Regions from separate parts of the Homo sapiens genome. Here regions 2 and 3 are each linked to region 1. The links are contacts of gene promoters, found by promoter capture Hi-C in blood cells and fetal thymus (Javierre and others, 2016). All regions are on one chromosome and are shown on one strand. The core of a region is centred on a gene start or on the middle of the fragment in contact, and the rest is flanking DNA. Distances in the headings are between cores, read along the strand shown.

What was found. Contacts are between HindIII fragments. The CHiCAGO score rates a contact against its expected background, and 5 or more counts as called.
Region 2: a contact is called between a fragment that was not itself captured here and the fragment with the promoter of DPEP3 in region 1, in 1 of 17 cell types (fetal thymus). The highest score is 5.3, in fetal thymus.
Region 3: a fragment that was not itself captured here is called in contact with the fragment with the promoter of DPEP3 in region 1 in 1 of 17 cell types (naive B cells); the score reaches 5.1 in naive B cells.

The regions. Positions count from the first base shown.
Region 1 is chr16:67,979,202-67,982,236 of GRCh38, reverse strand. It overlaps DPEP3 (dipeptidase 3), which reads left to right and starts at 1,738. Exons shown (of 10, transcript NM_001370198.1): 1 at 1,738-2,143; 2 at 2,472-2,598. The coding sequence starts at 1,857. RefSeq lists an enhancer at 1,914-2,414. The HindIII fragment of the contact is 6,110 bases long and covers 1-3,035 here.
Region 2 is chr16:68,338,683-68,341,748 of GRCh38, reverse strand. PRMT7 (protein arginine methyltransferase 7) reads right to left here. Exons shown (of 19, transcript NM_019023.5): 8 at 2,186-2,427; 9 at 1,781-1,961. Among named protein-coding and RNA genes, the nearest start is that of PRMT7, 29 kb to the right of the region's middle. The HindIII fragment of the contact is 1,178 bases long and covers 846-2,023 here.
Region 3 is chr16:67,503,842-67,507,134 of GRCh38, reverse strand. It overlaps ATP6V0D1-DT (ATP6V0D1 divergent transcript), which reads right to left. Exons shown (of 4, transcript NR_184227.1): 4 at 732-3,110. Among named protein-coding and RNA genes, the nearest start is that of AGRP, 22 kb to the right of the region's middle. RefSeq lists an enhancer at 2,298-2,407. The HindIII fragment of the contact is 2,646 bases long and covers 311-2,956 here.

The sequences.
Region 1 (3,035 bases), core at 489-2,988:
CTTGTCCAGCCCAGAAAGGGGCTCCCACAGTGCAGCGACGGGCTGAAGGGCTCCTCAAACGCGGCCAGAGTGGGCGCCAAGGCCGAGGAGGTGCCGAGAGGGAGCGAGGGCTGTGAGGGCTGCCAGCACGCTGTCACCTCTCATTTTTGTGTCTGTATACTAACATATATATAGAAAAAAATATTCGGCCCGGTGCGGTGGCTCACGCCTGTAATCCCGGAACTTTGGGAGGCCAAGGTGGGCGGATCACGAGGTCAGGAGATCAAGACCATCCTGGCTAACACGGTGAAACCCGGTCTCTACTAAAAATACAAAAAATTAGCTGGGCATGGTGGTGGGCGCCTGTAGTCCCAGCTACTCGGGAGGCTGAGGCAGGAGACTGGCATGAACCCGGGAGGCGGAGCTTGCAGTGAGCAGAGATGGAGCCACTGCACTCCAGCCTGGGTGGCACAGTGAGACTCCGTCTCAAAAAAAAAACCACGTCTCTAAAAAAGAAATAAGGCCGGACGTGGTGGCTCATGCCTGTAATCCTAGCACTTTGGGAGACCTAGGTGGGCAGATCGCTTGAGCTCAGGAGTTCAAGACCAGTCTGGGCAACATGGTAAAACCCTGTCTCTAAAAAAAAATGCAAATATACAAAAATTAGCTGGGCATGGTGGTGCATGCCTGTAGTCCCTCCCAGCTACTTAGGGAGCTGAAGCAGGAGGATCACTTTTACCTGGGAGGTCGAGGCTACAGTGAGCTGAGATGGTGCCACTGCACTCCAGTGAGACCCTGTCTCAAAAAAAAATTTGTTTTAATAAAATAAAAAATAACAATTAGCCATGCATGGTGGCACTGCACCTATAGTCTCAGCTACTTGGGAGGTGGAGGAAGGAGGATCGCTTGAGCTCAGAAGTTCAAGGCTGCAGCAAGCTATGATCAAGGCTGCAGCAAGCTATGATCACCCCACTGCAACTCCAGCCTGGGTGACAGATACTCTGTCTCTTGGAGAAGGAAAAAAAGCTAAAATAATGATCCCCAACAAAAATTGTTCTTAAATTTCATTTTCGGGGCCGGGCACGGTGGCTCACGCCTGTAATCCCAGCACTTTGGGAGGTCGAGGCAGGAGGATCACTTGAGGTCAGGAGTTCAAGGCCAGCCTGGCCAACATGGTAAAACCCCATCTCTACTGAAAATACAAAAATTAGCTGGGCATGGTGGCGGGCACCTGTAATCCCAGCTACTCGGGAGGCTGAGGCAGGAAAATGGCTTGAACCCGGGACGTGGAGGTTGCAGTGAGCCGAGACTGCATCATTGCACTCCAGCCTGGGCAACAAGACCCAAACTCCGTCTCAAAACTGAAATGAGATGAAATGAAATAATGAAATGAAATGAAATGAAATGAAATGAAATGAAATACCTATAGGGAATCTTTCTGTCCATCAAACCAGACAGACCGAATTAACTCTTCTGAGTCGCAGCTTAGAATATTTGACCTGCCTAGGAGCTGGGCACAAGCCGGCAGCTAACCGCCACGTGGGCCTGGGTAGGAGGTGAGATCAGGAAGATCCCTGGGCCCCTACTAGTTCCCTGCCTGGCCTCCTCCCCCACTCGTGTGGGGGTCTACGGAGCCAGCGCTGGGGGTGGAAGGGCGAGGAGTCCTCGACGCTGCAGCGGCGGTTCCGGCCCATGGGGGCGCTCTCCTGCTTGGGGGCGGAAAAGCCGTGGCGCCCCCTTGCGTGGCGCGTCGGTCTCAGAGTCGCGTGACTTCAACCCCCTCTTCGGGAGGCTGGGTCGTCATGATCCGGACCCCATTGTCGGCCTCTGCCCATCGCCTGCTCCTCCCAGGCTCCCGCGGCCGACCCCCGCGCAACATGCAGCCCACGGGCCGCGAGGGTTCCCGCGCGCTCAGCCGGCGGTATCTGCGGCGTCTGCTGCTCCTGCTACTGCTGCTGCTGCTGCGGCAGCCCGTAACCCGCGCGGAGACCACGCCGGGCGCCCCCAGAGCCCTCTCCACGCTGGGCTCCCCCAGCCTCTTCACCACGCCGGGTGTCCCCAGCGCCCTCACTACCCCAGGCCTCACTACGCCAGGCACCCCCAAAACCCTGGACCTTCGGGGTCGCGCGCAGGCCCTGATGCGGAGTTTCCCACTCGTGGACGGGTATGTAGGTGCAGCGTTTGGGCAACGCGGGGTGAGCACACCCTTGGGCAGGAGAGGAGGTTCTGAGCATGCTATCAAGGAGGCTATCAAGGAGGCTCCCTCACACCACCCCTGGATGCCCTCTCTCCTCCATCACCCATGGGTGCCCTTCCCCGCATTACTCCATTCCTGGTGGAATCTAACCCCCTCCCTCCAACCCAACCTCAGGAGGTCTCTATATGGTCTGTGTGAGGAGGTGCCTGGTGGGGTGGAGGAGGGTAGACCCAAGCACCTGATATATCCTGACTGATCTGGAGGCGGTGTTTCCATCTGACCTTCACACCCCCAGCCACAATGACCTGCCCCAGGTCCTGAGACAGCGTTACAAGAATGTGCTTCAGGATGTTAACCTGCGAAATTTCAGCCATGGTCAGACCAGCCTGGACAGGCTTAGAGACGGCCTCGTGGGTGCCCAGGTACCACAGGGACACACAGGGTGCCACAGCATGGCTGCTGGGGGATGTTGGGGTCACAGAAACCTGGGTCAGCCAGCCTCTGGGTGACTAAATACAATGGGGCATGCAGTGTGCCATCATGTGGTTTCTAAGGAGAGTGGGGCCTTGGAGGCCAAGACAGGCTAGCTGCATGTATGCCCAGGTTCTGTGGAAACACGCAGAAAATGACCAGAAAATCCCTGGTGAGTGTGGGGTCTGCCGTAACCACAAAGGACATAGTGGATTGGCCTTGGGGCATTCACATAGCACATGGACTAACAGCAGTTTTTTGCTTGTTTGTTTGTTTGCATTTTTGAGACAGTGTCTCCTTCTGTCGCCCAGGCTGGAGTACAGTGGCACGATCTCGGTTCACTGCAACCTCCGCCTCCCGGGTTCAAGCAATTCTCCCTGCCTCAGCC
Region 2 (3,066 bases), core at 185-2,684, 360 kb before region 1:
CTCCCTCGCCTGCCAAACTATCCTTGAAAAACCCTAGCCTGAGCCGGGCATAGCGGCTCACGCCTGTAATCCCAGCACTTTGGGAGGCCGGTGGGGCAGGTCACCTGAGGTCGGGAATTTGAGACCAGCCTGGCCAACGTGGAGAAACCCCATCTCTACTAAAAATACAAAATTAGCCAGGCATGGTGGCGCATGCCCGTAATCCCAGCTACTCAGGGGGCTGAGGCAGGAGAATTGCTTGAACCCGGGAGGTAGAGGTTGCAGTGAGCTGAGATCGCGCCATTGCACTCCAGCCTGACCAACAAGAACGAAACTCCATCTCAAAACAAACAAACAAAAAACCGTAGCCTGTGAATTTTCAGGGAGACTGATTTGAGTAACAAATCTCTCCCCCACGTGGTGTGGCTGGCTTCGTGTCAATTAAAGTCTTTATTGCAATGCCATGGTGTCAGCGAATTGGTTTTGTCTGAACAGTGGGTGGGAAGAACCCATCAGGCAATTCCGACACACCTTTCCCACTTTCTTTTCCTTTGAGTGTGAGAGTGAGAGAGGGTGGATGGGGGTGTAAATAACACAAGCACATGAGAGAAAATTCAAAAGGTATACAAGGACGCATAGTAAAAAATATGTTTCCTTTCCACCCCTAACCTCCAGTCCCCATTCCCAGATGCAGTCAGTTTTACGAATTTCTGGGAATTCTTCCAAAGACCTCCTTATATGTACACCACACATGACTATCCACTCACAAACACATATATTCCTATTTTTACTAACACCAGTGCTGCCACACAACACACCATTCTGCACCTTTATTTTTGTGTCAGGTAATAATCCACCCTGAAGCTTGTCCCACATCAGTGCACAGAGAGCTACCTCACCCACTGAAAGGATAATGGACTTGATCCCTGCTAGTGGCCTTTAGGTTGGCCTTTTTCTACTAAACCAGGGCTGCACACATCTATTCTGCACAGACGCAAATCCAGCCACAGCCCCATGTCTGAAAGCAGCATTGCTTTCTACCTGAAACGTTCTGATGACTCGCTTTCCTGCTTTTTCCCTGAGCTTCCCCAACAGTGTGCTTGCAAACTGTTTAAACTTTATTCACTAGTAGGTGAAAATGAGATCTCATTGCAGTTTAAAGTTGCATTTCTCTTTTTTTTTTTTTTTAGAGACAGGTTCTCATCTTATTGCCCAGGCGGGAGTGCAGTAATGCAGTCCCGACTCACTGCAGCCTCAACTTCCTGGGTTCAAGCAACCCTCCTGCCTCAGTCTCCTGAGAGGCTGGGAGCATAGGTGCTGTGAGCAGCTAAAACTGCATTTCTCTTATTATGAGGGACAGTGGGCAACTATCCCCATCATCTGTATTTCCTTTTCTGTGTTTCATGTCCTCTGCCTACTTTCTATCGGGGTGGAGAAAGGAGATTTTGAGGCCACAGAAGGTGAGGCTGTAGTTCTCTATTCCAAGCTGATGGGAGCCCCCTGGGATTACTCAGGGGATGAGGGGTGGTATCTAAGGGTGGCTGCATCATGATGAGGCGGGAGAGGAAAGCCAACTTCTCTGTTCCTCACTGTGTCCATGAGTGCTCACCATGAGCTCACCCTGGGAAGGCTACGTTACTACAGCTAGCCTTTGCTTGCTTTTTAAAAACTTTTGTCTTTGATTCTGACACAGCCCTCCTGTCTCTAAATTCTCCTGGGTCCAAGGCTCAACTGTTACTTTCCCATGAACAGCAGTGGACAAGTTTCCTGACAGGGCACATGCTAGGCTCCTGCCTCTTACCTGCATCTCCTCTGGGTCTGAGTGTGCCCAGAAGGGGGCCATGGTGCACTTGATCTTCCCCTCAGGGTCCATTTCAATGTCCCACCACGAGAGAACCACCTGAGCTCGGCCAGATGTCAGAGGTTCAAACCGCCTGCTATGGCAGGCTGCTGAGCTACTGACTTGCTTGCTGAAGTCTATGCTGAGGAATAATATTCAAGAATGTAAGCAGAGTTTAACCTCACACACTCCATTTTTTAAGCTTTTACAGTGACTTCACTGGCAATGACATTTGGCTGCAAAGGACTCTTGCCTTCGAGGCAGGTGACAGCAGCTAGATTTCCTTCCCACTCAAAAAGAACCTCCTAATACCCAACTTCCATCAAATGTCTCAAAGCGCCATCACCTATGGTGGCTCCTTGGTACCTGAACATGGGCAGCACATCGCTGAGGACTGTAAAGTCGGCTGGTGACACCTGGTTCAGCTGAATGTCACAGACAGAGGGTGCGCCAGGGCAGCTCTCCACGTCAACGGGAGGGACGATGACCTGCTCTCCGAGGCTGGTCTGCACGTGGATGGGAAATAGCTTGTTCCACGACCACATCCTCCCGGACTCCACCAGCTGTGCATAGACGGTGGCTCTGTGGGGCACGGCCTCACAATTTTCCTAAGTTTATATTAAAAACAAAACCAAACAAAAATCAGATGCTTAGACCCACAGTAATTCCCATTGATCAAAAGAGGTTTATTCCTTAACATTAGGTTGGTTCAGTAATGCCCAACACCTTATACTATTAGAATAGTGAACTGTTTTCAGCCCTATGCCCTTGGAAAAGGGAAAAAAAGGGTACTACATTTCAAAAAGAACACACACTGTGCCTAAAATGACTTCTGTCAGCTAAGTTCCTGGCTACCTGGCACTCTTAAATGCTTCACGTCCTGCTGCTGGGTGGTGATCCTGGCTCTGGGCTCAGTGTCCCTTCAGTGCCGCTCCTGCCCAGCACCAAAACAAGAGCCTCCTTGTGGCAAAGCCCTGTGGACCACGGTGCCCCCTCAGCTGCCCAGCCCTCTAGCGCCGCTGGGCACTGCTGCACACTCAGCCCCTAGGGCTGTGGCTCCGGCTCCGGCTCCTTGTCCGGCTCTCCTCCTACCTCTTGCATCCACTCCACGTCCTCCATGCACCAGGCAATAGGGACCCGGCAAGAGCACACTCACAGCTGCTACCCACATGGCTTTCACCACCAGGACACCACTGGCCTCTTGGGCCAAATGATTCTCTGCTGTAGGGGTTGCTCTGGGCATGGTA
Region 3 (3,293 bases), core at 384-2,883, 470 kb after region 1:
TCGCGCCACTGCACTCCAGCCTGGGTGACAGAGCGAGACTCCATCTCAAAAGAAAAAAAAAAAGAGACAGAGAGAGAGAATTTCCCATAATTGAGGTACTATGTGTGTTTCCAGATTGAAACGGCCTGTCCCAGGGTGGCTAGCTGTCACAGAGCAAAGGGTCTCAAACCTTTTGGTCTCATGACGTCTTTTCACTCTTCAGTATTTTTGAGGATTCTAAAGAATTTTGTTCATGTTGGTTATATCTATTATGAAAGGAAAATAAAATCTTGGGACCCCAAACTCATTATGTCAAAGGGAAAGTTAAGCTTGGGAACCACAAAAACTGCCTTCCTTTCCCAAACGGACAGCTGTAATTTCACAGGCTTAGTTATGTAAAATGTAGATCTACTAAGCCCGAGACAATGCATAGTTGACTCCCCCGACCCCTTTTCACATATAAAATGTAGAGTCACTGAGCTGCTAATCACAGCCTCACAACAATGTCACCACTTGCCGCCCTGCCTACCCTCCTGCCCGCTTTTTTCCCCTTTCCTCCCTCCCCTCCTGCTGCCTCTTTCCTCTTTGGAAAAAGCACAGGACACAGATCGTACTGTGACTTGTGTCTCTTTTTCCCCGGGCGTGTCCTCAACCTTGGCAAGATAAACCTCTAAATTGATTGAGATGCCTCAGTCACTTTTTGGTTCACACCATTAATATTTACCATGTGAGAAATTAAAACAGAGAAAATGTTTACATGTTTATTAATTTATTTAAAATGATATCATGAAACCATTACATGTTAACACAACTTTTTTTTTTTTTGAGAAGGTGAAGGTGTCTTGCTCTGTTGCCCAGGCTGGAGTGCAGTGGTGCGATCTTGGCTCACTGCAACCTGCCCCTCCCAGGTGCAAGCAATTCTTCTGCTTCAGCCTCTCAAGTAGCTGGGATTATAGGCGCATGCCACCAAGCCCAGTTATTTTTTTTTTTTTTTTTTGAGACGGAGTCTTGCTGTCGCCCAGGCTGGAGTGCAGTGGCGCGATCTCTGCTCACTGCAGGCTCTGCCCGCTGGGTTCACGCCATTCTCCTGCCTCAGCCTCCTGAGCAGCTGGGACTACAGGCGCCCGCCACCTCGCCCAGCTAATTTTTTGTATTTTTAGTAGAGATGGGGTTTCACCATGTTAGCCAGGATGGTCTCGATCTCCTGACCTCATGATCCGCCCGCCTTGGCCTCCCAAAGTGCTGGGATTACAGGCGTGAGCCACCGCGCTCAGCCAGCCCAGCTAATTTTTATATTGTTAGTAGAGATGGGGTTTCATTATGTTGGTCAGGCTGGTCTCGAACTCCTGATCTCAAGTGATCCTCCCACCTCAGTCTCCCAGCGTTGAGATTACAGGCATGAGCCACTGTGCCCAGCCAACACAACATACTTTTAATGAAAAATAACTACATTTTTCCAAACCAAAAAGAAAGTGAAAACAGTGGTATTGTTTTGTATTTTTTGCAAATCTCTTCAATGTCTGGTTTAATATTCTGGTTTAATTCCCATATCTGCTTCTATACTCAACCTGTTTCAACATCACATGTCACAAACAGCCAGGCGCAGTGGCTCACACCTATAATCCCAGCACTTTGGGAGGTGAAGGCGGGAGGATCACTTGAGGCCAGGAGTTGGAAGACCAGTCTGGGCAACATAGCAAGACCCCTCTGTCAGTATAAAAAACAAAATAAAAAAACACATGTCATGTAGCCTCTGGAAAATCCCACTGTACACTCATGAAAGACAAATAATATCTTTTTTTTTTTTTTTGAGACAGTGTCTTGCTCCATCACCCAGGCTGGAGTGCAGTGGTGAGATTTCAGCTCACTGCAATCTCTGCCTCCCGGATTCAAGCAATTCTCCTGCCTCAGCCTCCTCCTGAGTAGCTGGGATTACAGGCATGCATCACCACACCCAGGTAATTTTTGTATTTTTAGTAGAGACTGGGTTTCACCATGTTGGCCAGGCTGGTCTGAAACTCCTGACCTCATTATCCATTTGCCTTGGCCTCCCAAAGTGCTGAGATTATAGGCGTGAGCCACCGTGCCCAGCTGACAAATAACATCTTAATATTACCGTGAACCTAGTGTAGACTTTATGGATACTTCAAAAGGACCGCACTTTGGAAACCACAGAGTTAAACAATATCAAGTCTCATTGGCTTCATGCAATAAAAATGTACTCCAATGAAGACTGGCCAGCTTCCCATGGAGAGCTGGCTTTTTCCATCATGCTGTAAATTATACCATCTGGAATGCGTGGTTTCCAAGTTTACTGAGAGAGAGAAGGGGGCTGGTGAATCAGGTGGGATGCTTTTAAGGGTAGGGCCTGAGCCAGGCACACTGGCTCATGCCTATATGACATCAGCTATTAGGGAGGCTGAGGTGGGAGGATTGTTTGAGCACAGGAGGTTGAGGCTGCAGTGAGTCATGATCACAGCACTGCACTCCAGCCTGGGTGACAGAACAAGACTCAGACCTTTAAATAAAAAAAAGACTAGGGCCTAGAGGTGGGGCATGTCACTGGAAATGTCATCTTCCTGTGTGTCCAGGAAGAGAATTGGGTGTGGTGAACACTTAGCATCTGCTCCACCCCTGGGGTGATCGTGGCGCTCACATGATCCTGTGACCGGAAGCCTCCACAGGGTCACTTCATGAACATTTCTCATGTTTCTGCAGCATTTTCAAACAGTTGCCCTGTTAGTGACAGCAGTTATAACAGGTGACTTTGACTTCGAGCATTTGTCCCATTCAAATTAATTTTTCTATTTTAATTATAAAAGTAATACATGTTCACACACACAAAGCATCATTTCAATGATCAGAAGGACAAAAGAGAAAGATAAACATTACACCCCATGGAACCTCCTTGAACTGTGTCACCACCCGCGAGAAGCATAGTGAATTCTCTCAAAAAGTTTCTTTGCATCTCTAAGCTTACATCTACATCTATTTTTTGGAATGCAGTTGGGGTCATATTATGCATACTGTTCTATAAATCCGGAAGGAGGGGCATTAAGTAGACAAGATGATATGCAGAAGCAGATGGAAGGTAGAAAAACTCCTCTGCATGAATTCAGGGCTCCCTCTGGCTGAAAGAAGAAAAAGAAGAGCGTGGCTGGGGATGTGGCCGTAGAGCAATGACAGTCAGGCCTAGCCTCCCAGCAGCACGCAGGAGAGGCAGCCAGACCCCCAGATGGACTGCCCAGTCCTCACAGGCAGATAGGGTGTGGACAGCCTCACAAAAATGCCTGGGTCCCCAGCACTGCAGAGTC